2 separate regions of the Homo sapiens genome follow, and region 1 is linked to region 2. Evidence: promoter capture Hi-C in human tissues and cell types (Jung and others, 2019). All regions are on one chromosome and are shown on one strand. The core of a region is centred on a gene start or on the middle of the fragment in contact, and the rest is flanking DNA. Distances in the headings are between cores, read along the strand shown.

The links. The method cuts DNA at HindIII sites, captures the fragments that hold promoters and counts their contacts. A contact is called where the count stands out against the background at its distance.
Region 1: a contact is called between a fragment that was not itself captured here and the fragment with the promoter of CRYGN in region 2, in 4 of the 25 tissues and cell types used here (IMR-90 fibroblasts, liver, lymphoblastoid cells and 1 more).

Annotation. Positions count from the first base shown.
Region 1 is chr7:151,327,703-151,330,707 of GRCh38, reverse strand. No RefSeq gene overlaps it. Among named protein-coding and RNA genes, the nearest start is that of NUB1, 13 kb to the left of the region's middle. The HindIII fragment of the contact is 5,924 bases long and covers 1-3,005 here.
Region 2 is chr7:151,438,870-151,441,686 of GRCh38, reverse strand. It overlaps CRYGN (crystallin gamma N), which reads left to right and starts at 1,546. Exons shown (of 4, transcript NM_144727.3): 1 at 1,546-1,790. The coding sequence starts at 1,770. RefSeq lists enhancers at 518-1,054, 1,766-2,266, 2,267-2,767. The HindIII fragment of the contact is 10,973 bases long and covers 1-2,817 here.

The sequences.
Region 1 (3,005 bases), core at 431-2,930, 110 kb after region 2:
CCTAGTCCCAGGTACCTTTTCCCTATTGGCACAACTGCCAGCATTCACCTGTGCAAGCTTCCAGCTTACTTGTCTATGTCTGCAGCTCAATTTTCCAGGCCGCTCTTTGTTAGAAAAGAAAATGATTTTAGGGCTGTTTTTCATTAAAAGGAAAACCTTACTGAGGACTCCCATACCCTCACTATCTGCCTGAATAATGTCTTCTTAACTCCCCTATCAGTGGTTTCATTTTTTACACTACAATCTTTGATTCATCTGGAATTCATCCTGGTGAACTGTGTGAGATATGGATCAAACTTTGCTTTTACCCAGATAGTTATTCAGTTGTCTCTCTGCTATTTGCTGCTGTAGTTGTTTTGAGAAAGAATCTCACTCTGTTGCCCAGACAAGAGTGCAGTGGCACAATCATAGCTCACTGCAACCTCTGCCTGCTGGGCTTAAGCAATCCTTCTATTTCAGCCTCCTGAGTAGCTGGGACTATAGGTGTATACCACCACACCTGGCTTTTTTTTTTTTTTTTTTTTTTTTTTTTGAGATGGAGTCTCACTCTGTCACCCAGGCTGGAGTGCAGTGGTGTGATCTCGGCTCACTGCAACCTCTGCCTTCCGAGTTCAAGCGATTCTCGTGCTTCAGCCTCCTGAGTATCTGGGACTACAGGCATGCCTGACCGTGCCTGGCTAATTTTTGTATTTTTAGTAGAGATGAGGTTTCACCATGTTGGCCAGGCTGGTTTCAAACTCCTGACCTCAAGTGATCCACCCGCCTCAGCCTCCCAAAGTGCTGGGATTACAGGTGTGAGTCACCACTCCCAGCTGATTTTTGTATTTTTTGTAGAGATGGGGTTTCACCATGGTGCCCAGACTGGTCTCAAACTCATAAGCTCAAGTCATCTTCCCACTTTGGCCTCCCAAAGTGCTGGGATTACAAGCATGAGCCACTGCACCCAGCCTACACTCTTTATCAAATAGACCAACTTTTCTCCATTGATTTAAGATGCCACCTTTATCATATACCAAATGTCCTGCATGCATCATAACCCTCCCTATCCCAGGATTAAGAATGAATGCAAATTGTTCCATTAGAAAAAGTGAAGGCTGGGTGTGGTGGATCACACCTGTAATCCCAGCACTTTGGGAGGCCAAGGCTGGCAGATCACTGAGGTCAGGAGTTTGAGACCAGTCTAGCCAACATGGTGAAACCCCATCTCTACTAAAAATACAAAAATTAGCCAGGCATGGTGGCATGCTCCTGTAATCCTAGCTACTCAGGAGGCTGAGGCAGGAGAACCGCTTGAACCCAGGAGACAGAGGTTGCAGTGAGCCGAGATCACGCCACTGCACTCCAGCCTGGGCAACAGAAGGAGACTCTGTCTCAAAACAATAAATAAATAAAAATAGAAACAAAAACTTACAAGTCCATAAAACAGTGATTACCCTTATTACATGCAGTACACTCTGATTATTTTTATTCAATTACATCTTCTTTAAAAAATGCTACTTGACAACTGTCTTAGTCTGTTTACCACAGACTAGATAATTTATAACATACCATAGAGTGGGTAATTTGTAGAGAAAAGAGATTGATTTGGTTCATGTTTCTAGAGCCTAAGAAGTCTAAGAAATACCACCAGCATCTTCTCGGCACCTGGCAAGGGCCTTCATGCTGTGTCGTCCCATGACGGAGGGTGGAAGGGCAAGTGAGTGCGAGAGAGAAGGAGTGGGCTGAACTCACTCTTATAACAACCTACTCTTGCAATAACAAACCCACTCCCGCAACAATGACGTTAACTCATTGATGAGAGTAGAGCCCTCGTGGCCTAATCACCTGGTAACAGTCCCACTCTCTATATTGTTACAATGGCAATGGCATTTCAACACGAGTTTTGGAGGGGTCATTTAACCATAGTAAGAACCACCCCACCGATTTCAAGTCTGCGAGTAAATGGTTAACGCAACCCTTTCTCCTTCTGCATAAGAATGTAACCATTGTTTAACTTTCTAGACCTTTCCTTTTGAAACCTGATGAAGGTAGAATGTGAGCTTTGTTATTAAGGGACATTGTTTATGATTCAATAACCCCTGGCTGATAAATTGCACCTGGGCTAGGAGGAACTATAAGTATATTATAGAGACCTAATGGGGACTCCACACATCAGATGTCCCTGCATGTACTAACTTTTACAATTAAGTATGTACTGCGCAGATACTAGGAAGCTATGGTATTCTTACAAGAGCTATGCCTGTGTAGGTCATGAGACTTCCAAGTCAGGACGGCTCTTGAACCCATCTGATGTGAGTCTCATTTCCTTGAACCTGTGCCACATCACCTGGGGTGCAGGATACAGGAGAACACCTGGAGGACAGTGTGGATGTCTCCATAGACTGCTGTAATGATTGCTACTGTGGAAGAATACTCCACACTGCCCTGTGGTCTGTTTCAGGAAATTTGGGCTGCTATAACAAAAATACCTTAAACTGAGGAATTTATAAACAACAGGAACATATTTATCACAGTTCTGGAAGCTGAGAAGTATAAGATCAAGGCATTGGCAGATTTGTTGTCTGGTGAGGGCCCACTTCCTAATTCACAGATCGCGTCTTCTCTCTGAGTCTTCATGTGATGGAAGGGGTGAGAGGTCTCTCTGTGGCCTCTTTTATAAGGGCACTAATCGCATTCATGAGAGCTCTGCCTAGTCTCTCCCAAAGGCCCTACCTCCCAGCATCATCACCTTGGGGGTTAGGCTTCAACATATGAATTTTGGGAGAACTCAAACATTCAGACCATGTCACTGTCCCATATCCTTCTACGTGAATTTAATGCCATATATGGCTATGACAGTCTTGTGAGTCAGACTGTTTAGCTGACCCACTTGTTAACATCAGAAGACACCTTGGAGGATGTCCAAAGCCTAATAGTCCATGACCTATGGTTAGAAAAACACTGTCTGGCTAAATGTGTATATATGAGGGGCCTACAAAAAGTTCATGGACAATGTATTATTACAA
Region 2 (2,817 bases), core at 297-2,796:
TGTTTCCTCTGGGAGCCTCTTTGAGTCTTGACATCAAGGAGTAAGTGCCCCCACCCTCCCCGTTTCCTAAGAAGCCTGACTTCAGCTGTCACCTGACTCCAAATTGCAAAACCCACCTCCAGTCATAGAGATACAAGAAAATCAGCAATTTTATCCTGAAAACATGAATGCAGTGGGTTGTGTCTGCTTGGCTACAGAAGAGTGAGATCTCTCTCCATCTTTGCGATCTCTTAGGGGAGAGATCGTGATGCAGATCGCATTCCAGTTTAAAGTTTATTCAATAATAAAATTGTTTTTTTTTCCTTCTACCTTCGTGGAGAAGTTTTCTGGGTTGGCTGGAGATTTTGTTTTTAATTTTATGTCCCCACCAGGGCCCAGGTCCAGAGAGAAACATTGGAATGTGTGGCTTGGCAAGTAAGGGCGCCAGTGGAGGCAGCTGGGCGGCGTCCCTAGGGAGGGGCGTCCCTAGGGAGGACCGTCCCTGGGTTCAAGGGTGACATGCAGGTTCTGGTTTGTACCCTGTCTACTTTTGAAAACCTCCCACAGCAGAGGCAAGGTCACCCCTCTGCCCCAAGAATCACATAACCTCCTCTTCCTGGGCCTCAGTGTCTCATCTGTGAAATGGTCATAAAAATATACTGTTTGAAGGAAGAGCAGCCCAAACTCCTCCCCAAAGCTCCTCCCTCCCCTCCAGCAGAAGCCCCTGTGGAGCACCTGCCCCTCTCTCCTTTGATCTCAGAGCCTGTCCCCCACCACCCCAGCCATCTGAGTCATGAGTCCTGTGTTCCCAGCTCATCTCCCCAGCCGTGTGGGGGCTGCACATCCTGTGGGCTCCATGTTCGCTCTGCTCACTCCACAATCTCTGAGCCTCTGCTGTCTGCCAAGTGCTCGTTCTGGGCCCTGGGGAACTCTCCCTCCGCGGTGGGGCTGCTTTGTGCTGTAAACTGATCCTGGGCGTCCAGGGTGGCTTAGTTGGTGCAGCAGAGAGGCAAGGGGCAGAGCACTGTACCCCCAGCTCAGGGCAGCGCGGGTCACCTGGTCACCCTAGGCAGGATCTTCAAGGAGAGAGGGACCCAGGGAGGGAGAGTGCCAGGGAGGGAGGCAGGCAGGAAGAGAGCGGGAGGAGGGAGGCCTGACCTGGCCTGGCGTTTTGTGGGGTGTGGGGGGGTGCATCAGGAGCTGGGTGAGTTGGAGCCGGAGGTCTAAGGTGGGGACCTGGGAGCTCAGACCAGAGCAGCCAGGGGAGGGGCGGTCAAGGGCTGTCTGTCTGTCCGGGGAAGCTTGGGTTGCATCCTCGTGGAGACAAACAAGTTGGCACCAAGGCGAGACTACCTGCAGCCAGGTGAGAAAGGGGAGTGGGCTGGGGAGCTCGGAACAGGCCTTGGGAGGGAGGGAGATGGGCGTGAGGGCTGAGGGGCAGCGCAGGGGAAGAAAGGTTGGAGGGCTAGAGAGACACCTCCCCTCCTCCCCCCACCACTCCAGGGCAGGGCAGGGGCAGCCGCGGGCTGGGCGGGAGGGCTCAGGGAGGAAGGAGGCTCGGGAGCTAAACGCGGAGAGCACAGGGAGACCCCGGGCAGGGCGGGCTGCACTCGCGGTGGCACAGGGTGGCCGCGGCGGGTCCCAACCGCCTGGTGGCCCCTCGGGCTTAGCACGCCCGACAGCACTAACGCTCCGGGGCCGGCCCAGCAAATCTTTTGTCCGGGGCGGCGCTGAGCCAGCAGGGCGCTGCCCGGTGTAAACGGGGACCCGCGGAAGGGGCGGGGCGCACCATGGCGCAGCGCTCGGGGAAGGTGAGTGCGTCCCTCAACCCCAAGGAAACCGAGTGGGGCTCCGCCTTCGCCCCCTGTGCTAGGGGATGCAGGAGGGTGCACACTGTTGATGGTGACAAATCCAAGGGAAGCTGGTTTAATTTCTTAATAAAATGGGGTGGCCTCGCTACTGGCCTGGGGCCTCTCTGGTGTGGATGGATAGGAAGGTCTCCATCTCCACTCCTTCCTTCTGGGATTCCAACCCCTCGCCCTGCAGTCAGGAGCAGGGAGGGTGTTCAGACTCCCTGGGGCTTCCTTGGGGTGGGGGAGGCTTGGCTTGTCCCACAGCCCTCCGCCCCACTGCTGCGGCTTCTTTGCCCAAGGCTGGCCTCTATGGCTTTTCCTTCCCAGGGTCTCTTCAGGGACACTTAGGGCTGGTTCTCTGAAAAATGTTGAGATTTGAGGGAGCCCCGAATCCCTTTGGTGCCCAGACCTCCCTGAAGGTTTCAGGGGCCCTCTACCAGCCGTGCCTGGTGCAGGAAGGACGGGAGACCTGGCTCTCCCTCGCCCTCTCCAGTGCCCCTAGCCTAGCCACTCCCATGAAGCCTTTGGTCTCCAAGGCCACATTCCAGAGTGTCTGGGGGTGACTGTGTTGCTGTATCAGTCTGCATGGGCCAGGTGATGCTTCAGTAACAAAGGGCCCCAGTAACTCTGGGGTGCAGAACGCCAAGGTGTCTGCCTCCTTTCCGGTGAACGCATGTGGCCACGCCTGACTCCAAGGGGCCTGGAAGGGCAATTCTCGTGTTCTTTTGAGCGAACTGGAGACACTGGTGAGGCACAAGCGACCATAGTGATGGGGAACATCACTGCACTCTGGCAGGACCCTTCTAGGGCCACAGTTCTTGAAACCCAAAGAGTTACTAAATGGTTGAGATTTTAGGTTCCACAGCAGGAAATGAGTCTGGCGGGTTGTTATTGCTTCACTTTGTTTTGTTTCGGGACAAGGACAACCTGTGAGTGCCACGTAGCTATAAGACACGATGTCTGAACTCCCAGCAGGGTGATGGAG